2 separate regions of the Homo sapiens genome follow, and region 1 is linked to region 2. The links are contacts of gene promoters, found by promoter capture Hi-C in blood cells and fetal thymus (Javierre and others, 2016). All regions are on one chromosome and are shown on one strand. Each heading gives the region's core, a stretch centred on a gene start or on the middle of the fragment in contact. The rest is flanking DNA. Distances are from core to core; before and after follow the strand shown.

Region 1 (6,668 bases), core at 1,517-4,016, 82 kb after region 2:
CGATGGCCTCAGTCTGTGGCACCAGCATTCCTGATTTGTGTCCAAAAGGGACTCCATTTTGGGAAAACAGCCAATCTGAAGATTGGAATGGATATTTTTTTTTTTTTTTAAGATGGAGTCTGGCTCTGTCACCCAGGCTGGAGTGCAGTGGCATGATCTCGGCTCACTGCAAGTCCGCCTCCCAGGTTCAAGTGATTCTCCTGCCTCACCCTCCTGAGTAGCTGGGATTACAGGGGCACACCACCACGCCCGGCTAATTTTTGTATCTTTAGTAGAGACGGGGTTTCGCCATGTTGGTCAGGCTGGTCTCAAACTCCTGACCTCGTGATCCGCCCCCCATGGCCTCCCAAAGTGCTGGGATTACAGGTGTGAGCCACCATGCCTGGCCTGGAATGGATAATTTCTCTGCTGCATCTCATTAATTTATACAGCAAGTGTTCACTTCTATATGCTGCACACTAGGGATATGATGGTGTGCACACAGCCCTATTGTCCTGAGATTGCAGATCAGTAGGAATGCTTGGAAGTGAATAAGGTACTCTCCACTCATGCCTTTATCTCTGGACTTTACCTGTCAAGATGAGCCCATGTGTGCAAATATTTCCTGAGTTAGAGCCAGCAAGATCTGAAGTTTTGTAGAAAGGGATGGGTGTGCTACCTTGAGGCCCTGAAAGGTCAGTGAAGTCAGGGCAGAACAATAGGTACTGGAGCTGGGATTTGAGACACAGACAATAGTCCTAACATTTACTGAAGATTTAAAAAATACTAGATGTTCTTAGTAATTCACACGTATTAACCTCACTTAATCCTCACAACAACCCTGTGGTACCATTATTATACCTGGTAAGTGAGGAAGCAGGCACAGAGAGGTAAAGTTGCAAAGTTCATACACTGAGAATCAGGGATTTGAGCCCAAAGCAGTGTTTGATTTGTTTTGTTTTGTTTTTGAGACAGAGTCTCACTCTATCACCCAAGCTGGAGTGCAGTGGCTCAGTCTCTGCTCACTGCAACCTCCCCCTCCCAGGTTCAAGTGATTCTCGCGCCTCAGCCTCCGGAGTAGCTGGAATTACAGGCGCCCACCAGCACACCCGGCTGATTTTTGTATTTTTAGTAGAGACAGGGTTTCTCCATGTTGGGCAGGCTGGTCTTGAACTCCTGACCTCAGGTGATCCGCCCGCCTCGGCCTCCCAAAGTGCTGGGATTACAGGAGTGAGCCACCGCGCCTGGCCTGCAGAACTTTTTCTTTTGGCCACCTGAACAAAGATCCTGGGTCAGTAAGGTGTCAGGGGTTTCTGTGAAGAGGTCAGTTTTCTTCCAGATGAGGATGTGTGTGAGGAAGGTGGAAGCCAGTTTTGTGAAAAGCCTTGAGAATCCCCAAAGGACAGTAACATAGGAAGCTAAATGTGGCGGACTTGCAGGATGAACTGATGCACAGTAAGAGCTCCTTGTGGTCGACCCTTCTGACTTCCATCCCGTTTCCCTGTGCTGGAAGACGCACGCCAGGTGGGGTCGCAGGTTGTTTCTGGTGCCGGCTTAACCGGCGCAGCACCGAAACCCGTAGCTGCGTGCGGGAAGGAACCACCGAGCGGAAGCCGCTCCCACCTTCCTAGAGAGGAGACGGTAGTGGTTATTAGCCGAGGCGCGGACTGCTGACGTCACGCCGGCTGGGCGCGTCCGGGACTTACTCCTTTCCGCAGGGCAGCACCCAGGGACCTGAGTGTTGCAAGGTGCGAGAGGGGAGCGCCGCGGGGAGCGCCGCGGGAAGCGCATGGTGAGCGGTTTCTGCTGTGCCCGGCTGCCGCGGGTCGATTCCAGCTCCTCCCTCGGGAAGCAGGGCGTTTTTCTTCCTGGAGGGCCTGTGGAGCGGAGGCCCGAGGCCTAGGGCAAACTTGCCATGAAGAAAGGAGAGGCTGTTCGAGAGCCCTAGGCTGGGAGTCGGAGGACCTGGGTTCGATTTATACATACTTAAGCATGTCAGTGAACTTCTGGGCACTTTAGTTTTCTGATTTCCAGAAGTAAATACTGTTTCCTGCCTTGCCGTTTCCCAAAGTTGTGCGGGTTGAAGTAAGTATATGCAAGAATTAGTGCCTTCCCTTCATTATTTATTCTTCTCTAACAACAACAAAATAGGTACCGTATGAAGACATGTAGACTCAATACTTTAACAGCAGGCACTATTTATTGAATGCTTACCAGCTGGCATTCTTCTAAGTAGTTGCCATGTAGTAACCCACTTATTCATTACGACAACCCTATAAAGTAGTTACTGGTATCGTCTCCATTTAACAGTTGAAAAAACTGGAGCAAAAAAAGGTTAGGTAACTTGTTCAAAAGTCCTAGTCCTGGAGCCCATGCCATACTTGTAAGTTTGCTGGTGGAAGACAGAATGTAATCAGACTAGAAAGTCCTACAGTAGAAACTTGTAAAATTCTTTGAGAATGTAGACGAGGAAGGGCCTTGGAAAAGTCAAAATTTTCCCACAAGGAAGAGGTGTGAAGTTTCACATTTGAGCTAAATATTAAAGGTTGACTGCAAGCTTGAAAATAATTGCTGGCTTATTTGACCAAATGAGGAAATAAAAGAGACGTTTGAAAATAATTAAACAGTTTGTTCAGTGTCAGTTAAGAGATGCTAGTGGATTGGGATGTATTAGACAGGAAACCAGGTTCCTGCCTTTGAATACAGTGTTCTTTGCATTAGGAGGGTTCTTGAAACCTTTCCCTTATGAAGAGTCCTTAACATCTTACAGCAGATACTCCTTACACAAAGGCAATCCTCTTGTTATTTTCGAGAAATTCCCCCAATTCTAATTGTAGGAGGATAACTGACAGGAAGTTTCCCTGCTGTTGATTCAGCCCGTTCTTAACAAGACCCATTCACCTCACGGCTAGCTCATTTAGTACTTTTCAAATAAATGAATAAACAGATTCAATCAAAGATGGACTGGAAGGGCTTGATTTGAGGTTTTTGCTCTTTTCCCATCTGTATATAGAATCAAAGCTTTGTAGAATGTTGATATTACAAGAAGCTTTAAATATTATCTAGCTTTTCAATTTCATTTAACAAATAAGAAATGGATGAGACTGAGTGACCTGTGTTAGGTCATTGAACAAATTGGTGGCAGAGCTGAGACTAGAATCCACACCTCTTGACTGAGTCCATTACTGGTCCTACTGCCCTCTATTGTAGCCCTGCAGCATTTGACTTTTGAAATCAATGGCTTTTCCAGTAGACTTAGGGGAGCCATTGGGCTCCAACCTGATGTCGTATAAAGAAATTTTTACGCCCAGATGCTTAGTCCTAGGAAGGACCTGCCCTCTTTGTACATTGTCACATCTCTCTGAAGTCTGCCAACTCACTAATTTTTGTCACTGGAGATACTCCTCTAGGATAATAACGATATTCTTTCATTTGAACTTAAAATGGTCATTTGGTTAGAGATGGGATGTTCTTGAGTTACCCTGAATCTAGAAGGTGTAGGAAGTAGGCTGGCAATTTATGAGTGGCTCTTTTTCCTCCCTCAGTGCCTCAAATTCCTGCCTTTCCTCAAGAGAAGAGCCCCCAGGAGAAAAGCCAGTATTGCTTGTGCTCCTAACAACCTGTCTCTTGGTAAGTTAACTCTAACTAGAGAGCCCAGGATGGTGGTGGTTGTGAGACTACCATCAGAAGTGATGGCAGACCTATGGTGGGACCCACCAATGTCCACTAAATGTGGACCCAGCAGAAAATGCAGGACCACACAGAAATGGATACCATTTTACTCAAATCAGTGAGGGTGGCCCACTGTGAAAACGGCTATGGAATAATTGGTTATGGGACAGGTCCTAGAGTGCACTAAGTTCTTATCAGAGTACCTGAACTGAAGACTCTACAGTCATCTGGTAGCACATCTTTAAACCACTTATTGAACTGCTCAGTATGATGCCTTAATGGTGTAGTGGTTGGATCAAGGAATATGGGTAGTAAATTATTGGAAAACCCATTGCAAATGTGATTAGGTATTTCCTCAGAGAATATGGAATGGGCTTCTGGCCATGTTTAGAACAAGAGCTTAAGTTATTGCAGCTGACATTGTCACTGGCAATCAAAAGGCAACATGGAGCCTGGGTGTCTGTCAAACTCAGTAAAATAATTCTGGGTAAATTGTATTCTTAGGTTATGGGAACTCTGTGAAGAGAATATGACTGTGTCCTGAAGAATTTGGATTAGTTTAATATGTATGCATAATATATGTACACTTATGTACGTATTTATGTTTATATGCATCAAGAGATACCTAGAAGAAGGTCCATTAAAATACTATTATTTTCTGTGGCTGGGTTTCAAGTGATTTCCTCTTCGGAGTAGCTGACCATTTAATAGAATGAGCATGCATTCTTTGTATGATAAGAAAAAAACCTTTTTATTTTGGAAAAATGAGAGTAAAGGAATTAAAAATGTGCTTAGAGTTTTGGTTTTACATCTGGTTGCTTAAACCAACTGGAGTTTGTTTTTGTATATAGCATATCCATGTTGTAAGTTAATACATCAGATAAAGATAGGTTTAGGTAAGATAGTCCACATATTTAACAAACAGTATGGTACAGGCATTGCCCAAGCAGGTAGTCGTGAACAATTTGTACAGATATAGCAGTGTGTATCATTTGACTCTCAGCCCCAATAGATCCATATGTACCAACATGAAGTGATCTCTAAGACACATTTTTTAGTGGGAAATAAAAGCAAATTGCAGAGCAGAACCTGTAGAACAATTTCATTTATTTAAAGAGAATCAAGTGATATATGTGTATAGAAAAATGTGAAGAAAAAAGGAATGAAGGAAGATACTTCAAACTTGATAATCTCTGGGGAAAGGAATAGGTTTATTTTGTTAACAAAAATTTTCTTTTAGAGAAGGGGTCTTGCTCTGTATACTAGGCTGGAGTGCAGTGGCATGATCATGGCATACTCCAGCCTCAACATCCTGGGCTCAAGTGATTTTCCCACCTCAGCCTACTGAGTAGCTGGGACTACAGGTGCACATGACCACACCCAGCTAATTTTTTATTTTTTGTAGAGACAGCATCTCACTATGTTGCCTAGGCTGCTCTTAAAACTCCTGGCCTCAAGTGATCCTCCTGCCTCAGCCTCTCAAAGTGTTGAGATTATAGGTGCGAGCCACCATGCCTGGCCTATCTTATATACTTCCATATTATCTAAATATTTTAAAGTGAGGATATATAGTTGTGTAATTTACATGATTAGAAAACAGACAAAAATGGGCCTCAGAGAAGAAGCATGTGTTAGTGTCTCCAGCACCAACTAGGGAAGAGATTGCTCTGACGTGCAGCACCTGAATATTCATTCTTTAATTCTGTGTGGCTTATTTAGGGCACCAGGGTTTCAAAATTTGATAATCATTTAGTTATGATCAATTAAATATTTTGTTCTTTCTCCAGTTCTTTGTTTCCCAAAGAGTGCTCTAATGACAGTGATTTGGTTCACATACTGTTTTTCTAAAGTCCAGAGAATATGTTAACCAGCTCTATATTAAGCACAGAAGTTTTTCATTGTAAATAAATGAAGTGACTTTATTTTCTCTCTCATTCCCCTTATAAATCTGATTAGTATATTTCAGATTTCTTTGGCTACAAAGGTGAGGGCCAGCACCTGGACCATGATGCTGTAGTCAAGTTACTGTCCAATTAAACCTTCTTCTTTAAGGACCACTTCTCTAATTTTCCTGAAACAAAACAGTGATATCTTACTTTCTTTCAGTAAGCAGGACTCTAGTTTTCAAACCTATAGGTTTCCAGTTGGGCCTAGGGAGAGAATTATAGATGGTGAATGTTTTGGAGAGAAAGAGAGATCCAATGAGGCACCTGTAAAGGTGACTGAATGAAGAAGGATTGGTGAGATAGGCCTAGTGAAAGTTACAGCCTGGATCACATTTGAAGTTTTAGAAAGGAAACTCTTTGACTATCACTAGCCTGCCATGATTATAGGTAACCTAAAGAAATAGAGTTATTATTCCTCTGTTTTTTGAGCAGTAGAGACTAAGTGGACAGTAAGTTTCCGTAACACTTATATGCCCAAGTCTAGGATACTTATTCCTTTCATATTTTCCAGTTATTTATCACTGTGGGTGCAAATCTGGATGATCCCAAATTACCTGGGTTAGTTTTTAGTATTTGATTGTTTCAGAATCAATTGTGATATGGAATTTTATAGAATTCCTAATACCTGTCACTACTTAATCTCTTCAGAGAGGCTGATCATCAGGGGTTCACTTTCAGAGAAGTTGAGAATGCAGGCTGAACAAGGAAGAGGAAGGGGAATCCTGCAGGGATGAATGAGAGGACAGCAATGCATGTGTGATGTGTGTGAGCACACACACACAGTAACCTTTCCTAGGAGAACTGTATTACTCTAATGATAATCACCTTTGAGGAAAAAAAACTTGTAAGTATGAATTTGGTGTTACAAGCAGCATGAATTCCAGCCAAATATCACTCAGAATGAAACATGGGAGAGTTAACATGCAGAAGAAACCTTCAAAGTGTAGTGAATGTGGGAAGTTCTTTACTCAGAGATCATCTCTTACCCAGCACCAGAGGATTCACAGAGGAGAGAAGCCCTATGTGTGCAGTGAATGTGGAAGTTGTTTCCGTAAACAGTCAAATCTTACT
Region 2 (6,692 bases), core at 1,451-3,950:
TATTAATTCAACCCCACAGTTTCTTGGGGGCTGGTTCCTCATTAGAGTGAAAGGTAGCCAAGAGTGAAAACTGGAAGGGGCCTAAGGCTTAAAGTCTTAAGACCTGGATGTGGTTCAGGTTTTGCCATCTGCCTCAGAAAAAATCTCTTCAGTTCTTGGAGCCTTGAATTCCTCATCTGTTAAACAGGAGGAAGAATATCTACCTCACAAAGTTCTTATGAGATAATGAATATAAAAATGTTTCATCCAGGTTGTTGAATCATCCCAGCTTATATAATAATTACAAAGGACATATGTACTTTAACAATGGAGAATGCTGTGATTTACCTCTTCACCGAGTAACAAAATGTCACATTGCTTAGATTGAGACAGCCCACATAATGTGCCACCTTCTGTGATGTAATAAGCTGAAAAATGTTCAACCTGAATTTAATCAAGCTTCTTGGACCTCATTGCCAGGTTACAGGAAATACAGGAGGCAGAGGAACAAATAAAAGACACCACGAGAAACAGACACATCCAGAACGTGGAATATTGCATAAGAAAGCTGCCCTGGATTCTTCAAAATATTATTATGATGAAAAAGAGAGGGGAGTGAAAATTGTTCAAGCTGTCTTGAGTCTGCTGTGAGTTTATTATACCATTCTCTGCTTTTGTGTATGTATGAAAATTTCGATATGAAAGGTATAAAACATGGATGAGGAGGCTTGTTTTTAAAAGATAATACTAGAGAGCCGTTAGGTACTAAGAACCAGAAATAGACTCACATAAATGGCCAATTGATTTTTGACAGGGGCAAAAGCAATTCAATGGAGGAGGGATCGCCTTTTCAGCAAATACTGTTGGAGTAATTGGATATCCATAGGCAGTAAACCAACAACTTCAGGACCTAGGACTGAGCTAAGAAGGCTCAGATGACTCAAAAGCATGCTCCTTAGAAGGAAAAAAAATGTTAAATTGGACTTCATCAAAATTAAGATAATTTACCCTGTAAGAGACCTTTTTACAAAGATGATATTACAGGTTGGGAAAAAATATTTGCAAATCATATCCAACAAGGGATTTGTATGTAAACTACATAAAGAACTTTCCAAATTTAACAGTAATAAGTAAATACAATTAGAAAATAAGCAAAAGACAGACATTTCACTGAAGTATAGATAGCAAATAAGCAAATGAAAAGATGTTCAACATCATTAGGCATGAGGGAAATGCAGAGTAAAATCGTGAGATATCACCTATCAGAATAGCTTAACTTTTTTTTTTTAATGGTGGTAACTGCTGGCAAGGATGAAGAGAAACAGGATCTCATACATTGCTGGGAATGTAAAATGGTACAGCCACTCTGGAATATAATTTGGCAGTTTCTTGTAAAACCACACATGTATATGTCATGCTTCAGGAATTGCACTTCTGAGCATTTATCCCAGAGAAATGAAAACTTGCGTTCACACAAAAACCTGTATACGAATGTTCATAGCAGCTTTATTTGTAATGGTCGAAACCTGTAGGCAACCCATATATCCTTCCTTAGGTGGTTAAAACAAATTGTGGTTTATGTATTACCATGGAATACTTGTTACTCTGCAATAAAATTGACTTATTGATATCCATAACAACTCAAATAAATTTCAAGGGAATTAATGCTGAGTGAAAATAATCACAAAAGGCCATATTCTGTATGAAAATATTCATATAACATTCTCAAAATGATAAAACTATAGAGATGAAAAATGGATTAATGGTTGCCAAAGGTTAGGGATGGTGGGAGGAAAAATGGGGAGAGGGTTGGATGGAACTATTAAAAGGTAGCACCAGAAAGGTCTTTGTGGTGATGGAACACTTGTGTATCTTGATTGCAGTGGTGGTTACACAAATCTATAGGTGCTATACCTATACACACATACTGTACCAATGTTGATTTCCTTTTTCATTTTATGTAAGATGTAACCATGAGGGGAAAGTGGGTGAAGGGTGCTATCTTTGCAACTTCCTGTGATTCTATCATTTCAAAATAAAAAGTAAAAACCAACAATGGCAACGAAAACCCAAAACTAAAGAGCTGTAACCAACTAAAGTGTGTGAAACTGATTTGAAAAAAAGTTATAAAATACATGTTTTAGGACAGTTGGGAAATTTGAATATGACTGGTTATTAGATGGTATTAGGGAATTTTTGTTGATTTTCTTACCTGTGACGGTGGTGGTAGTTTGAAGAATATTCTTAATCTTAAGGGATGCATGTTGAAGTATTTGGAATGAAGTGTTCTGATGTTTACAACTTTCAAAAAAATGATTTTAAATATGTATTGAGAGATCAGGCAAACATAGCAAAATGTTCATTGTTGAGTCCACATGGAAAATACGGGTATTCAATGTGCCATACTTTCAACTCTTCTGTACTCTGATATTTTCAAAATAAAACATTTGAGGGGAAATTATCAGGGCTTTCTACAGATTAATGCTGTGTAGCTTCAGGCTCTTGGGTGCGCGCCTCGCCTGAGTGTCTCATCCCTGCTTGGGATGCGCCCCTCCCTGAGGCTCACTTAGAGCTTCCAACAGCACAATCCTCCTAAGCGCTTCTGCCCCATCCCTGGTCTGGGGCGACATTGGACACCCATCGAGAGGAAAGCACCTCCGAGGTTCCTAGAGAGGCCGGCTTGGCGACTTGGGGAGCCGGAAGCCCATCCCGAGGCACTTCCTGTCCGGTCATTGTTCTCGTGCCGGTAGAAGCTGAAGTACCGGTCAGCCAGCCTCCTGCTGCAGAGCCAGTGAACTCAGGTCGGGCTTCTCAGCTGCGCACAGTGAGTGGGGTCGGAGGGGGTGGGCACGAACGTCGAGGGAGAAAAAGGGGCTCTCCCAGGGGCCATGGCCCTAGGAGCGGCCCCTGCGTCCTTTCCCCGGGGACACCAGCCTTGTCTGTCGGGGTGCGGGGGGCAGTGAGTTCCCCACCGCCTCGGAATCCCGGCTGCTGCCCACCTGGGGCCTGGTCCGGGAGAGGATGCACACGGACCGGCCAAGGGGCCAGATAGGTCCCAGGGACAGGGCCGCGAGGAGCCTATACGTGGAAAGAATGGATTGCCACGTTTGGAAATAGAGAAAGGACGTTGAAAGGGAGCCTTTGATAGAGGGCCCTGTGCCGTCTGGGACCGGAGGTCCGTCAGAATCTGATCAGAAGTCTGATGAGAGTACTCACTGTAGGCAGTCTTATACACAAGGTGGAACTAGTCTTAAGGACCTTCATACCAGATTGAATTCGGATAGTGATGGAAAGAATAGTCCTCCAGAATTAAGGTTTGTCACAGGAATGAAAGTATTGCATTACTTAATAAATTCAGTGTATACAGTAAGTGGCCAGTAAGTTGACATGGGGAAAAGAGTATGATCACTTCAATAGCAGCAACAGGGGATTGAATAAGATTTCGCACCCTTTTCCAATAAAACATTCAAAGGGGGTTAGAAAGAAAAATTTCAATCTCTTCATAAGCAATCAAACTAGTAAGGTTATTTTGCTCACAGGTTAAAAACAAAAACCCTGCTGGCTTAGCTGTGATAAAGGGTTACTGTCAATTAGTGGGGGTGTGAATTGGCATGGTGCTTTTGGAAAGCAATTTGACAGTACATATCAACCAGCAAATCCTTGAACCAGTAATTCTCTGATTATTCTAAAGGAATAATTCAGCAAAAAAAAAATATTTACAAAGAAAAACTTTTAAATATTAATAAAATGGAAATATAAACTTTTACTAAATAAATGGTTCATAAATAGAATATGATTAAGTAAATGATAATATAGCCACAATTTAGAATACTATGCCAGAATGAGGTAGTTCTATATGTGTTGTATTGAAAGATTGTTAAGACTATTGTGAAATACGGAAATTGAGTTAAAAAACAATGCAGGTTGCTGAACAGTATATAACTGTGATGATCTAAAGTATGTTTTTGAAAAATAAGCAATATGTGTGAAGGTGAACATATAAGTATGTAAATGCAGAGAAAATGGGTTAGGACTCCCATCTAAACTGATAAGTACTTTGTGTGTGTGTGTGTGTGTGTGTGTAGTGTGTGTAGGTTATATATTTAATTCTATATATTTCTGTATTACTTGATCCTTTTTCAATGAGAGTGAAGATTTATCAACACCATAGGTTATTGTGTAGCATTTAAAATAAGCATGAAGAATGGCAACATGAAAGTAATCTTTTTTTAAATCTTAAGTGTAATATTTTATCTCACAGGACATTTGGAAGCTATGGAAAATGTAAAAATCAAACAAAAAAAATGAAAAGAACCTTAAAACTACCTGTAATTACACCATCCAGAGTTAACTACCCACTGCTAACACGTTGGTATAAAGACTCCCAGTCTTTTTCTTGGGATCCTTTTGTTCACATTATTTTGTATCCTTGGCAATAAAAAATCTTTTTGTTGTAAAATCCTTTTTTAAAAAATGCTATGATGATAATTGTGAAAATATGTATCCCCAAAGTCAAAAACAAGAATTTGTAAAATCATAATTATTAGTAGTATGGTTGGAGATTTTCCTTTGAAAGAAATATCTTAAATCTTAAAATGTATAGTGGTTATCTCTTTGGAGGTAGACCGAGATGATTTTTCTTAATCATTTGCTGCTTTTAAGTTTTTACAATAAAAGTAAGTTAACTTTTAATCAGGAAAAAATCAATAAACATTATATAAAGCTGTTTGCAATGTGGTTATTATGGGAAGATATTACATATTTATAGTCCAACCCCTTCATCCTATGAGGGAGGAATAGAGGATTCCATGTCCTACATTGGCCCCTGGCCAGGCGCTGGTGAAATTTGCCGGTGTGGCATCCGGCAAATTTGCTAAGTGGCATCCAGCAAATCTCTCCTTGGTGCTAACAGTGTTTTCTGATTTCTCAGTAGGCAGTACTCATCTTGGCCCTGGGAAGAAACTCAAGAAGAAGCTTTTGAAACATAAAGCTTGGATGGGGTTTGACCTCTGCAGGGCAGCGCCCAGCTATAGGAGTTCCCCTGCTGAGCAGAGAAGATGACTGCAGAATTGAGAGAAGCCATGGCCCTAGCCCCATGGGGCCCAGTGAAGGTGAAAAAGGAGGAGGAAGAAGAAGAAAACTTCCCAGGTCAGGCATCCAGCCAACAAGTGCACTCCGAGAACATCAAAGTCTGGGCCCCAGTGCAGGGTCTTCAGACAGGCCTTGATGGATCAGAAGAGGAAGAAAAGGTAAACGGGGGCCTGAGAGGAAGAGGGGAGGAGATACTTGAAGACCTCAAGTAGTTTAAGAGGGGACTCTGCCCCTCTGCTTCCACACCTGGAGTCTTATTTCTTGGGTACAATTCTAGCTTCCAGTCTTTTGTAATAGGATAGAAACATTCCCTTCTGATTGATGTGACATTCAGTACTTTCTGTAAACCAGTGGTTCTCAAATTTTGCTACACAGAACCTGGAGAGCTTTTTATAAAATCTTGATGTCCATACTGTATTCTATTCCTATTAAATCAGAATCCGTGGTCCAGGCACAGTGGCTCACACCTGTAATCCCAGCACTTTGGAGGCCAAGGCGGGAGGATCACTTGAGGTCAGGAGTTCAAGACCAGCCTGAGCAACATTGCACACCTCGTGTTTTGCAATGCCGAAATACAAAAAATTAGCTTGGCATGGTGGCACGTGCCTGTAGTCTCAGCTACTTGGGAGGCTGAGGTGGGAGGATTGATTGAGCCTTGGAGGCATAGGTTGCAGTGAGCCGAATTCATGCCACTGCACTCTAGCCTGGGCAATAGAGTGAGACCCTGCCTCAAAAAAAAAAAAAAAAGAATCTAAGGGTGGGACCTGGGTATCCATGTTTTTTTAAAACTCTTCAGGTAATTTCAGTCAGGTTTTGACAATGCTAACCAGAGCTTCTAAAACTTTAATGTGCATAGGAATCACCTAGGGGTTCTTGTTAAAACAGTTAAAGTTCAGATTCTGATTGAGGATGTCTGGGGGTGGTCTGAGATTCTGTGTTCTTTGTTTGTTTGTTTTGCAAGCTTCCAGGTGATGCAGATACTGCTGCTGATCTTTGCACCACACTTTGATTCATGAGGCTGTACACTGTGCTGTCCTTAATGTTTCAAACACACCCCTTACCATTACTAGTCAAATGAGGGCAGAGGTTCCCCCAGAGCCTTTCTGTAATAATATCATCAAAACCTTGCTGCTTTGATCTTTAGATCCCACAAAAGTTCACTCTGAAAATTCTTCCCATATGCTCTCTCCTCTTATCATGTACTCACTGGTAAGCTAGGTTTAGATTCTGGAGTGAGCAGTGAGGTGCAATCAAAGTAATAAGGAAGAAAGTAGCTAGCTTGTTTCTCTGCCCAACTCACCCTGGGGGTTGGAGGAGACTCTGGCTTCCTTTTCTGTTTTTAAAAATTGTTCTATGGCCTCCAGGAATAGATAATTATGTTCTCATTCTCAAAATTGTAACCACACTACCCCCTACCACCAGTTCCCTCTTAAACATGTGCCTGCTTGTCTCTAGGGTCAGAACATATCCTGGGATATGGCGGTAGTCCTGAAAGCAACTCAGGAGGCACCTGCTGCTTCAACCCTTGGCAGCTACTCATTACCAGGGACTCTGGCCAAGAGTGAGATACTGGAGACTCATGGGACCATGAACTTTCTAGGTATGGTTCAGTTCCCTGATTC

What was found. Contacts are between HindIII fragments. The CHiCAGO score rates a contact against its expected background, and 5 or more counts as called.
Region 1: a fragment that was not itself captured here is called in contact with the fragment with the promoter of ZNF35 in region 2 in 1 of 17 cell types (monocytes); the score reaches 5.4 in monocytes.

What each region holds. Positions count from the first base shown.
Region 1 is chr3:44,727,952-44,734,619 of GRCh38, forward strand. ZNF501 (zinc finger protein 501) reads left to right here and starts at 1,684. Exons shown (of 3, transcript NM_001258280.2): 1 at 1,684-2,064; 2 at 3,525-3,609; 3 at 6,246-6,668. The coding sequence starts at 6,471. LOC105377056 (a long non-coding RNA gene) reads right to left here and starts at 1,575. Exons shown (of 3, transcript XR_940788.4): 1 at 841-1,575. RefSeq lists an enhancer at 1,495-1,564. The HindIII fragment of the contact is 464 bases long and covers 2,535-2,998 here.
Region 2 is chr3:44,646,032-44,652,723 of GRCh38, forward strand. It overlaps ZNF35 (zinc finger protein 35), which reads left to right and starts at 2,701. Exons shown (of 4, transcript NM_003420.4): 1 at 2,701-2,803; 2 at 4,910-5,228; 3 at 6,526-6,670. The coding sequence starts at 5,037. ZNF660-ZNF197 (ZNF660-ZNF197 readthrough) reads left to right here. Exons shown (of 8, transcript NR_147692.2): 8 at 1-2,440. It overlaps ZNF197 (zinc finger protein 197), which reads left to right. Exons shown (of 6, transcript NM_006991.5): 6 at 1-2,440. The region is part of intron 2 of ZKSCAN7-AS1 (ZKSCAN7 ZNF cluster antisense RNA 1); the gene reads right to left. RefSeq lists enhancers at 2,386-2,945, 2,824-2,993, 3,074-3,183. The HindIII fragment of the contact is 4,515 bases long and covers 437-4,951 here.